Regions from separate parts of the Homo sapiens genome. Here all the other regions are linked to region 1. The links are contacts of gene promoters, found by promoter capture Hi-C in blood cells and fetal thymus (Javierre and others, 2016). All regions are on one chromosome and are shown on one strand. The core of a region is centred on a gene start or on the middle of the fragment in contact, and the rest is flanking DNA. Distances in the headings are between cores, read along the strand shown.

Region 1 (3,879 bases), core at 961-3,460:
TTACATAAAGACATCCCCTCCGATATGCACCTCCAAGTTACTGCACCTCATGACACCTATAACCAAAAAAGAGGCACAACACTCTGCAGATCTTTTAATTTTAGGGGCAACGTATATAACAGCGTTAACGCTCTACACAGTTGCCTGTAAGGCTGCCAGTGCCAAGTGTGGATCAGTGCACATTCAGGGTGCAGGACAAGCTTCTTAGGCACTTGGTGGAAAGGACCCAGCAGACCCACTGACACAGCGTCCATGGTAAACAGGATGCCGCTGGATGCCTCTGGCAAGCACTGATAAGACTCAGAGCACAACCCTCTGGGATTTCAGAGTAAATCTACACCCTCTAAACGGTCATCTATGCAGCTGACCACTTACCTTTTCAGAAATAGGCTGGGGCTTGGAACCAGGACAGAGTAGAGAAGGAACAGCTAACATGGGACATGAGGTGACTAAGGCTGAACTCAGCCATCTGAGACCTCGTGGACCCAAAGGCATAAGGTGCTTACTATCCGCCCTTTGCCAACCTCTCCTCTGAATTCAATTACAAGTTCATAGGAAGCAGCAAGAAATGGAGGAATATTTAAACGTATCACGAGAAAACAACACCAAAGTCAATATGATAGAGAAACCACAGGGGTTGTTCTAGGTGAAAAGACATAAACGATGGGAACAGATAAACCTTGAAGGGCTCTTAGTCCCCAAAATACCCAACAGCGCAATGTTGGAAAAATGTTGAGAATCCTAGATATTACACAAAGTAGACAGTGGATGACCTCCTTCTTATTTTTTTATTTTTTTATTTTTTTGAGACGGAGTCTTGCTCTGTCGCCCAGGCTGGAGTGCAATGGCACGATCTTGGCTCACCGCAACCTGTGCCACCCAGGTTCAAGCGATTCTCCTGCCTCAGCCTCCCGACTAGCTGGGATTACAGGCATGCGCCACCATGCAAGGCTAATTTTGTACTTTTAGTAGAGACGGGATTTCTCCATGTTAGTCAGGCTGGTCTTGAACTCCCGACCTCAGATGATCCACCCGCCTCGGCCTCCCAAAGTGCTAGGATTACAGGCGTGAGCCACTGTGCCCAGCGGACCTTATTATTTTTAATTATTATTATTATTTTTTGAGACGGAGTCTCGCTCTGTCGCCCAGGCTGGAGTGCAGTGGCGCCATCTCGGCTCACTGCAAGCTCCGCCTCCCGGGTTCACGCCATTCTCCTGCCTCAGCCTCCAGAGTAGCTGGGACTACAGGAGCCCGCCACCACGCCCGGCTAATTTTTTGTATTTTTAGTAGAGATGGGGTTTCACCGTGTTAGCCAGGATGGTGTCGGTCTCCTGACCTCGTGATCCACCCGCCTCGGCCTCCCAAAGTGCTGGGATTACAGGCGTGAGCCACCGCGCCCGGCCTAATTTTAATTTTCTTAGATGAAATACTAATATTGTGGTTTCAGTAGGATAATGTCCTTACCCTTAACAGACGCTTTACCAAGTATTTAAAGGTTAAGTATCATGTGTGCAGTTTAATTTCAACTTACTTACACTCAAATAATAATTCACCGTAAGGTTTATTTATTGGGGGAGAGAGAAAACATGGCCCAAAGCTAAAAAGGAGTAAAACGATTGCAGTGGATATTCCTTGTAGCAGATGTTCACATTTTTATTAGATTCAGATTTTCTAAAGCAAAACGTGAGAAAAAATACAGTTAGTCGAAACACACTGTTCACCGTGGATTCGATTACTCCAAGACCAGCGGGACAACGGCCGCATCCCTCCCGCCCCGAGGGCCGGGCCTGGAAGTCCCGGCGGCGAGGGACGCGCGCTCCCGCTGGCCCCCACGGGCTAACTTTCACAGGGAGCTGCACGCCCGGGGCGCTCAGGGGTCTACCTTACGCTTCGGTCCCAACACAATGTGCCAGAAACAAATAAAAAACGTCAAAGCCGAAGCCAGATTCTCACAGAAACACGCCCTGTTCAAAGTGAAGGAAGCAAAGGGCCCCTCTCTCACCAGCTCCGCGGAATGGAAGCGCTGCCCGGGTCTACCGCGAGCGGCGGCGACTTTCCCTTCTGGAAGCGGTGCCGGGGGCGCAAGGCGCGAGGCAGGCGGGCGGGCGCCCACTCCCGGACCAGCTTCCCCGCGGACAGCCCGAGGACACGCGCGGAACTCTCCGGCGCCAGCACGCACCGCCGCAAGAACCGGATCAGCTGTAAGACAGGCGGAGGCGGGGCCGGCGCCGGAAGAGGGGCCGGCGCGTCTTTGGCGTCACTTCCGCCTCCAGCCTCCGGGCCGAAGCTTTGGCCTATGGTGCGGGGAGGTAGTAGTTTCTTCCGCGAGGGTGCGGGAGGGCCCCGGGGCGCCCTTGGGAACCGGGCTGGAGGCAGAGACAGGCCCGGAGGACCAGGCGGACGTAAGGATCAGGCCTCTGGACGCAACTGCGGAGCCGGAACAGACCAGGAGGGCGCGGTTGGGCGGGTACAGCCAGGAAGTGCTCGTCGCGAGCGCGGCCCGCGGTTCGGTCACAGCGAGAAGCCCGCGGGTGCTGGGAGTGCTCGGTCTTCTCTCGATCTCTGCAGGGAGTCACTGGCCCCGTTCCTTTTTATCTGTCTGAACATCACGCCGAACTTTTAACAGTTGATTCCACTGCATTTTCAATGTGGTATTTTTTTTTTCTGTAAATGTTCATCTATTTTTCGCTTCAAATATGCGTTTCTGTTACTTTTCTAATGTACCGTAGGAGCCAAGACCACCTATACTACGTTGCAAAATAGCACTGATACCAGGGGTTCTCCCAAGGTTCATTCAGAAATGTCACATGATTCCAGTAACAATACGAAAAGGTTTTTTTTTTGGAACCAGGCATATTGATCCTGGAGTTCACATGGAGGAACAAATGTCTCATAACGCAGACGACGCGGACAAACAAAAGCGCAATGCCCGACAGATGCGAAAACAGCCTCTGTCATTAAAACTGTGTGCTAGTGACACATGAACAGGAAACAAATGGAATATCCAGACATCAACCCAGTAACATGGAAATTTGGTTCATAAACATAATTTCAGAGCGGTGGAACAAACATGCAGTTTATAATGAAAGGTGCTAAGACAAATGGTTAGCCGTCTGAGAAATGATGAAATTAATTCTGGATCTCACAGGGATAAACTCCAAACGGATCAGGAGTCTAAATGTGAAAAACAAAACAAAACCACATGTGAAGTGTTCACGTGATTTCGTGGCTGATTAAGAAACAAGATGTGCCCAGGAGGTGGCGGTGGCGCACAAGCTTTGACAGGTTGGAGGGTGAGGGAGTCTCACGCACCATGAGATTACCCACAGGCTTCGAATTGGGGGTCACTACTCAGAAAAGAGAAAAAAATGAGCGTGGGCGGGGGGCGCGCAGAGAACTCCCAGAGAAGAAGGAGATCAGACAGGGGGAGGGCTGACGTGACTAGATCACGTTTCTCAGCAGCCTGACAGGTGTCTGAGTCACAAAGCTCTGAAGGGCAGCAACGGCTTGCAGTCTTTAGAGCCCCAGGATTTATCTTATCTATGGCTAGCAGAGATTGGACACAATTTCACGAAGTATACAAAGCAACCACATGCTAAATGGTTCAACACTATGAGTGTTTGGGATGTGTTTTATTTATTATTTATTAATTTTGATACGGAGTCTCCCTCTGTCGTCCAGGCTGGAGTGCAGTGGCACGATCTTGGCTCACTGCAACCTCCGCCTCCCAGGTTCCAGCTATTCTCCTGCCTCAGCCTCCCAAGTAGCTGGGATTACAGGTGCCCACCTTGTAATTTTTAGTAGAGACGGAGTTTCACCATGTTGGCCAGGCTGGTCTCAAACTTCTCACTTCAGGTGATCCACCCGCCTCGGCCTCCC
Region 2 (3,879 bases), core at 965-3,464, 550 kb after region 1:
TTGCCAACAGCTATCAAAAGTACTCAGGCACATCCCACTTGGCCCAGCAATTCCACTTCCAGGAATTTCTCCTGCAGAAATACATGTGCACAAACAACGTAGGAAAGCACTGTTTATAGTAACAACCCAACTAGGACAGACCAGGTATATTTAGACAACAAACAAGGAAGCTTTTTACTAAATTGGGATGATCTCTAAGAAGAAGGTACGTAGAAAAAGCAAGGTGGGAGAACACGCTATGTGCTTGTACTATGCACGTCAATGAAAAAATACACAAAGAATTGACAGGCCAGGTGGAGTGGCTCACACCTAATCCCAGTACTTTGGAAGACTGAGATGGGAGGGTTCCCTGAGGCCAGGACTTCAAATCAGCCTGGGCAACATAGCAAGACCCCCCCACATCTCTACAAAAAAATTAAGAAAAAAATTAGCCGGGCATGGTGGTGTGTACCTGTAGTCCCAACTACTGAGGAAACTGAGGTGGGAAGATCCCTTGAGCCAGGAGGTCGAGGCTGCATGGAGCTTTGATCGTACCACTGCCCTCCAGCCTGAGCAACAGAGTGAGAAAAAAAACAGACTTTTTTTCTATTTCTGGAAAAAAATAAAGAATTTATAAGTATGATGGTTCTGGTAATAGAAGTAGGTGGCTAGGCAGAGTGGACACTTCACACTGCATACTCCCCTATTTTCCGAAATCTGAGTTTTTTTTTTTTTTTTTTTTTTTTTTGAGATGGAGTCTTGCTCTGTCACCCTGGCTGGAGTACAGCAGCACCATCTCGGCTCACTGCAACTTCCGCCTCCTGAGTTCAAGCAATTGTCCTGCCTCAGCCTCCCCAGTAGCTGGGATTACAGGCGTGCACCACACGCCCACCTAATTATTGTATTTTTAGTAGAGACAGGGTTTCACCATGTTGGCCAGGCTGGTCTCAAACTCCTGACCTCGTGATCCGCCCACCTCGGCCTCCCAAAGTGCTGGGATTACAGGTGTGAGCCACCATGCCCAGCCAATCTGAGCTATTTAAAAACTAAAGGTAAAATTTTAAAAGGGGAAGGGGAAAATGGGAAGTCATTGTTTTAAGGGGACAGAGTTTCTGTTTGGGGTGAGAAAACTCTAGAAATAGTGGGGGCGTGGCACATGATTGGAATGAATGGCAGGGAACGGCACGCTTAAATGTTCCTGTACGTTTCACAGGAGAAGTCAATGCACACACAAGCGCCGCAACCCAGTCCAAGGCTTTGCTCCTACAGGGCCTTACAGGGGGTATTTGAGACGCCCACCTTAATGCAGGTTGGACCCAGCTCCGGGCTGCGGGGCTTCCCCGCCCCGGGGTCTTTCGTGTGAGCCCCGTGGCGGGGGATCCTGGCCCAGGACATGGCGCGGAGAAGGCTGTGGGCGGCGGGACAGGGTGCCTTCGGCTGCCGGGTTAAGAGTGGATCCCGGGATACATCCTCCAGCGCCTGCCCTCGGGCCTGTGTGCACCCCCATACCCAGCGGGGCCGTCCAAGAGCTTCAAGGAGGGCACAGCGCGACCCGCCCTCCCCTCAGCCCCGCACACCGTCCCACGGCCCCGCACAGCCTCCCTCCCACACAGCGCCCCACGGCACCCGCACAGCGCCCCACGGCCCCTTCATGGTCCCCGCACAGCGCCTCACAACCCGCACACAGCGCCTCACGGACCCTTTACGGCCCCCGCAGAGTCTCCCACACGGCGCCCCACACAGAGCCTCACGGACCCCGCACAGCGCCTCAAGGTCTCCGCACAGCCCCCAGCACAGCGCCTCACACAGCCCTTCGCACAGCCCCCCGCACAGCTCCTCACGGGCCCCACACAGCTGCCGCACAGCCCCGCACAAGCCCGCACAGCACCAGCAGACAGGTAGCCCCCACAGGCAACAGCGCCCACCTCGCCGCGCCCAGACCCCGGATCGCCGACGCGGACGCCAGGCGCCTGGGCACACGGCGCCTGCGCAGACAACACCACGCCCCAGGCCTGGCGAGCGCACCCTGCGGGTGGGGCGGACCTACGTCAGCAACCCATCGTCCGATCCCGTCCATTGGCTGAGAGGTAATGCGTGCGCCCGACTCGCCGCTGATTGGTCGGCGCGCGAGCAGCCGGGCTCGCACGGGCCAATCCTGTGGTAGCGCGTGAGGAGGCAGAGGCCTCTGGGGTGGGATCGCGGGCCGTAAGTGGCTGTGGAGCTGGGGTCACTGCGCGGTGGGACCATGGCCTCGGAGAAGCCGCTGGCGGCAGTCACTTGTACAGCGCCGGTCAACATCGCGGTCATCAAGTACTGTGAGTGCCGCGGGCCGGCCTGGGACGGGGATGGCCGGGAGCGAGGCCGGGTACGCGGGGGTCGCGCGCTGATTCGGCGGCGCGCTCCGTCCTGCCCTCCCAGGGCCTCGACAGACGGGGAAACTGAGGCTCAGGGAGGGGCGCGGCGGTGGTCGGGCGGGGCCGCGCGCTCCTTCGCGTGACAAGCTCGGCGCCACCCGTTCCCCCGCGACGGCTGCCGCCCCTGCAGGGTCGCCCGGCGCCTGCCCATTAGCGATTACCGAACTATCGAAATCATCAATCATCGATTCCCATGAATCGTAAGAATCCGCCGTGGTGGTGCGCGTTTGTGGCTCCAGCTACTCGGGAGGCTGAGGCGGGAGGATGGCCAGAGCCCGGGAGGTCGAGGCTGCAGTGAGCGGAAATCGCGCCACTGCTCCCCCAGCCCGAGACCCTGTGTCCCTCCCTCGCCCCGTTTCTCCCAGCGGTAACCTCCAAGGAGCGGTAATGGGGGGCCCGCAGGCCCACATCCGTGCCGGGGAGGCCGGTCCGCACCTGTGCGTTCACAGCCCCGCCCCTCCCCTCGCGCCGGGGTTACCTGGCCGCCACTGACCACTCATTTCTGTAACGTCATTTCAAAATGTTCTGAAACTGGAATCGCAGTTATGTGGCCCACCCAGTATCTTTTGAGTTTGGCTTATTTCATTCAGCATAGAATGTGGACGTGCCCCGGGATTGTATCAGTGCTTTGCCCCTCTGTTGCTGAGCCAGTCCGTGGAATCCATGGACCACCCTCTCTCTAGCCAAGGCCTCACCCCGCAAAGAGCATCTAACGTTTTCTTTCTTTCTTTCTTTTCTTTCCAGAAGCCGCCACCACGACTGGCTAATTTTTTTGTGTTTCCCTTACCAATAAAGCTGCCATAAAATGTTGTATACAGGTTTTTGTGTGAACATACATTTCCATTCTTCTGGGATAAATGCCCAGGAGTGCGGTTGCTGGGTCAGATGGTAGATATATATATATGCCTCTCTGTCTCTCTCTCTCTTTCTATGTATATATGTATGTTTGTGTGTGTGTATATATATATACACCTGTATAGATATATGTGTGTGTATATGTATACACCTATATAGATGTATGTGTGTGTATATATACATATATATATTATATATATACTTTTTTTTTTTAAAGAAACTGTCTAATTGTTTTTCAGAGTGGCTGGGCCATTTTGCATCCCTACGGTGATGCAGATTTTCCGCATCCTCACCAGCATTTGGTGGAGTTGCTGTTTTTCATTTTAGCCGCGTCCTGGTAGGGATGTGCTGGCAGGGTGCTGTGGTCCTCATTCGCGTTTCCCTGTTGGCCAGTGACGTGGAGCATCTTTCTTTGTGCTTATTTGCCATCTGTGGGTTTTCTTGGTGAAATCTCTCTTCATATTCTGTGTCCACGCTCGAACTGGATGGTTTGCTTTTTTACTATAAGTTTGGAGAGTTCATTACACATTCTAGGCTGGGCACGCTGGCTCAAGCCTGTAATCCCAGCACTTGGGGAGGCTGAGGTGGGCGGATCACCTGAGGTCAGGAGTTTGAGACCAGCTTGGCCAAC
Region 3 (3,879 bases), core at 361-2,860, 530 kb after region 1:
TCTACACTCCCGGCGTGGTGGTGCCAGGCCATGCTTGCAGGAGAGGCGGGCACCTTCTTCCAGGGGCACCTCCACCTGTCCTTCCACTCCCCCTCACCAAGTGGCAGACAAGCTGGAGTGTGGCTGGGTCCCAATCCCACTGTGTCCTAACCTCTCACAGCCTTGGTCTTCTTTTTTGTTTTTTTTTAATTTTTTGAGACAGGGTCTTGCTCTGTTGTCCAGACTGGAGTGCAGTGGGGTCATCATAGCTCACAGCAGCCTCCACCTCCTGGAGGCTACTGCAACAAGCAATCCTCCCTCCTCAGCGTCCTGAGTAGCTGGGACTGAAGATGGGTGTTGCCACGCCTGGCTAATTAAAATAATTTTTTTTTTTTTTTTTGTAGAGACGGGGTCTCATGTTGTTTTTCAGGCTGGTCTCAAACTCCTGGGCTCAAGCAGTCCTCTTGTCTCAGCCTCCCACAGTGCTGGGATTACAGGCGTGAGCTGCTGAGCCCAGACTCACAGCCTAGTTTTTTTTCATTGGCAAAGTGGGGCTGATACTAGCCCAGCTTTTCACACCCTGGACGTGTGATGTGGGACGTGGGATGCTGGTGTGGCACGGCCCTCCTCCCTGCTGTCTGTCCCTCAGAGCTTCCATGGACTCACCACCCCCCACCTTCTCCACCCCCGGCCCACAGGGGGCAAAGGCCACCCAGCTCTGAGGTGGAAGCCCTGCTGGGGAGGCAGGCCGGCGGCACAGCCAGGGACACCCTGTGTGCACGCCAGCCCAGAGACGGCCCCACCTGGCCCCCAACGTTATGAAATGTCCATGTCAAAAGAGACCCAGACACTGGACACAGCGGCTCCCAGCTTTTTATGACCCTGAGGGCTCTACAGGACCACAAAGGAGGGAAACGGATTGCCCAGGTCACACGTGCAGCTGTTGCAGAATTCACGTGATTCACCGGTTTTATTAAACTTCCCATAACCATGTCTGACCCCCTGGGAATTCCAGAATTCCAGGCCAAGTCCTCCGTCCCCCAAAAAACAGCTTTCTGGAGGCACTGGACAAACTCCTAAAGGGCTGACTCCAGTGGGGGAAGCCTTCGGAGACTGCAGCCCATCCAGAAAGGACCACTGTCTCCAGGCCACCGGTCCCGGGCCTGTTCCAGAGCCGCCAGTAGGGCTGGTCACTAGGGTCAGCTTCGTTTCGCCTGGGCTCTCCCCATCAATCCTGTCCTGTGAGTTTGCAGAAGGGATGGGGAGGCGAGGCCAGGCCGCAGAGTGAGCGTCATTCTCCGCAGCAAGGGTTCTCCAAGGACCGCGCTCGGCCGACGCTTCCACATTCTGTGGAAGAGATTCTCGCTCGGTTTCCACACAGCTTTGAACTCTGCCCTTCACTCACGGCGAGTGGGTGGCCAGGCCCGACGGGTCGGTGTGTGACTCGGCGGCGCGCACGCCAGAGAATTCCCGTGGGGAGGACACCGGCGGCCACGCGCTCCCCGCCCCGTCCCGCCCGCGCACCTGTCCTGGGCGTGTTGCCCGAGACCCCGCCTCGCCCTCAGTTCCGCCCCCGTGGCCCCGCCCCACTCGCGCCGGGCGCTGGTTGGCGGAGGCGGCGCGCTATGCTAATGAGCCTGACCCCTTCAAGCGCCGGCGGACGCAGCAGTCCGGACCCAGGCGCGCCCCTCCCGCCCCAGCCCACCCCGGCCTGCCGCCCGGGAGGGGAACATGCCGCGCTCCTTCCTGGTGAAAACGCACTCCAGCCACAGGGTCCCCAACTACCGGCGGCTGGAGACGCAGAGAGGTACTGACTACCCGATCCCCGAGCCCCTGCCGGGACTCGACCCTGAGGGGCGGGAGAGAGAGAGAGGCCCCTGGGAGCGGGGGCTGGGGAGACACCTGTCCCAGGTGGGAGGAGAAGGAGCCAGCGCCTCTGCGCAGCGGCTGCGGCTGCAGGGAGGGAGGTGGCCCACGGGCGCCTCCACTTCAGGGCACTGAGCCCCGCCTCCGGCAGGGCGGGCGGGATTCTCTCCCAACTTGGAGAAGTTTTCTAAGTTTTCTAAGCCCCCAAGTCTCCCTGGAACTCACCCCTGATATACAGCCGCCCGTCCCAACCACTACAGCCCCAGCTAAAGGCACCCTGGAGTCATCTTCCTGGCGCACACGTTTGGGAGGGGTCGCGGGGTGGTGGGTGGGAGGGAAGGAGGGCCGTCTGGGGCGGCCCGGCTCAGGGACCCCCGGAGCATGCTGACTGGGGGTGTAAGCACAGGGGATGGTGAGAAGGACACATGGGCTCTTTCTGGTGCAAAGGCACTGCCCCTCCTGCATTCAGTTCAGGTGAGCCTCCGCCCGTGGTCTCCCTCCCTCCCCCACCTCCCTTCACCCCAGAAGCCCTCCTGCTCACCCCGGCAGGCTTGCCTGGGCAGGCTGGGCTAAAGGGCTGCAATCCTCCACACACCGGCTAGGCTGGGGAGATGGGTGCCCAGCAACCGGGCTGCCCGTTCATTCCCACTGCCTGCTAGGCTTAGGGACACGAGAGAAGAGGACTCTGTCCTTCAGAGGACAGCCTGCCACACGGGCGGTGAGAGCAGTCCCCACCTGGCTTGGCAGCTTCTTGGGACAAAGGCCCACTGAGGGGCGCCGGCGGACGCGGTGGTCGGGACTCACGCTCTGTGGCCGGTGGGGGAGAGCAGGAAGGGCGCTGTTGGGGCTGTGGCCCCCAGCAACACCGCCAAGAGGCCTTTATCCCAGCTCAGAACCCAGAGTTGGGGATGGGGGGGATCCCACCTGGACCCACACCCGAGGCCCGGGCTGCCACCAGGGGGTGCCAGCTAGGACCATGCTTTTCAAATGTGCATTTTGAAATCAGTTTCATCAGTCACCCCCAGCAATTTTGTAAAATAAAATAGAGCAGAAACTGCCGGAGTGCCTGGCTCATGGTGAAGGACACTGGCTTCTGTTATGTGTATGTGGATGCGCATGTGACTACACATGTGTGCGGAATTTACATGGGTAATAGTTGCAAGTTTCAAAGTGTTGCTTAGGGTCCATCCCAGTGTGCAAATCTGGGTAGCTGTGCTGGGCCCAGTGGGCAACTGTCGTGAGTAGCCGTGCTGCCCCGCAGTGCTCTCTGCTCCCCGCCCCCGCTCCCCTCCTCACTGTAGCCCCAGCTGCCTGGCTTTCTGACAGCCAGGGGGCCCTGGCAACTTTCTGCCAAGATGTTACCCCAGGATAGACCTGAGGTGCTGGGATTTGGGGCCCCTCAATCTCTCCTTTTAAATAAATGGCTCCTATGGCTCCCCAGGGAACCCCTGAAGCCAGCAAGGTACTTAAACAGTCTCTTCAGCTGGGTGTGGCGGCTCATGCCTGTAATCTCAGCACTTTGGGAGGTCGAGGACGGCAGATCACTTGAGGTCAGGAGTTCGAAACCAGCCAACATGGCGAAACCCCGTCCCTACTAAAAATACAGAAGTTACCCCGGTGTGCTGGCGGGTGCCTATAATCCCAGATACTCAGGAGGCTGAGGTAGGAGAATCACTTGAACCCGGGAGATGGAGGTTGCAGTGAGCCACGATCGCGCCCCTGCACTCCAACCTGGGCGACAGAGCGAGACTCTGTCTCAAAACAAAACAAAACAAAACAGTGTCTTCTCCCCAGGATCTGGACCGCAGCATGAATAAAAAGGCAAGCAAAACCCAGAGAGTATGGGGAAAGCATTTAAAATCCCAGCAGAAACACATGGTCAGCCTGACGGGGCGAGACTGTCTCTTGCCCCGTCCTGCCTCTGGGCTCAGCCACTGGGCCCACAAACAGGGTCCTGGCTCTGTGACAATACCTGGAGGCAGAAAGGTGGCCATGTCTTAGAGATGGAAAAAAGAAATGGTGACTTTTTCCTGC

The links. Contacts are between HindIII fragments. The CHiCAGO score rates a contact against its expected background, and 5 or more counts as called.
Region 2: the fragment with the promoter of MVD here is called in contact with the fragment with the promoter of ZNF778 in region 1 in 1 of 17 cell types (erythroblasts); the score reaches 7.0 in erythroblasts.
Region 3: a contact is called between the fragment with the promoter of SNAI3 here and the fragment with the promoter of ZNF778 in region 1, in 4 of 17 cell types (erythroblasts, total B cells, naive CD4 T cells and 1 more). The highest score is 6.5, in erythroblasts.

What each region holds. Positions count from the first base shown.
Region 1 is chr16:89,216,034-89,219,912 of GRCh38, reverse strand. ZNF778 (zinc finger protein 778) reads right to left here and starts at 2,210. Exons shown (of 7, transcript NM_001201407.2): 1 at 2,003-2,210. ZNF778-DT (ZNF778 divergent transcript) reads left to right here and starts at 2,260. Exons shown (of 1, transcript NR_186410.1): 1 at 2,260-3,879. RefSeq lists enhancers at 794-1,323, 1,324-1,854, 2,379-2,428, 3,378-3,672. The HindIII fragment of the contact is 2,087 bases long and covers 203-2,289 here.
Region 2 is chr16:88,661,426-88,665,304 of GRCh38, reverse strand. It overlaps MVD (mevalonate diphosphate decarboxylase), which reads left to right and starts at 2,214. Exons shown (of 10, transcript NM_002461.3): 1 at 2,214-2,294. The coding sequence starts at 2,225. SNAI3-AS1 (SNAI3 antisense RNA 1) reads right to left here and starts at 1,932. Exons shown (of 4, transcript NR_024399.1): 1 at 1,905-1,932. RefSeq lists silencers at 1,550-1,709, 2,050-2,469 and an enhancer at 1,920-1,969. The HindIII fragment of the contact is 12,211 bases long and covers 173-3,879 here.
Region 3 is chr16:88,684,238-88,688,116 of GRCh38, reverse strand. SNAI3 (snail family transcriptional repressor 3) reads left to right here and starts at 1,610. Exons shown (of 3, transcript NM_178310.4): 1 at 1,610-1,786. The coding sequence starts at 1,711. SNAI3-AS1 (SNAI3 antisense RNA 1) reads right to left here. Exons shown (of 4, transcript NR_024399.1): 4 at 931-1,326. RefSeq lists silencers at 1,330-1,789, 1,840-1,999. The HindIII fragment of the contact is 8,177 bases long and covers 1-3,879 here.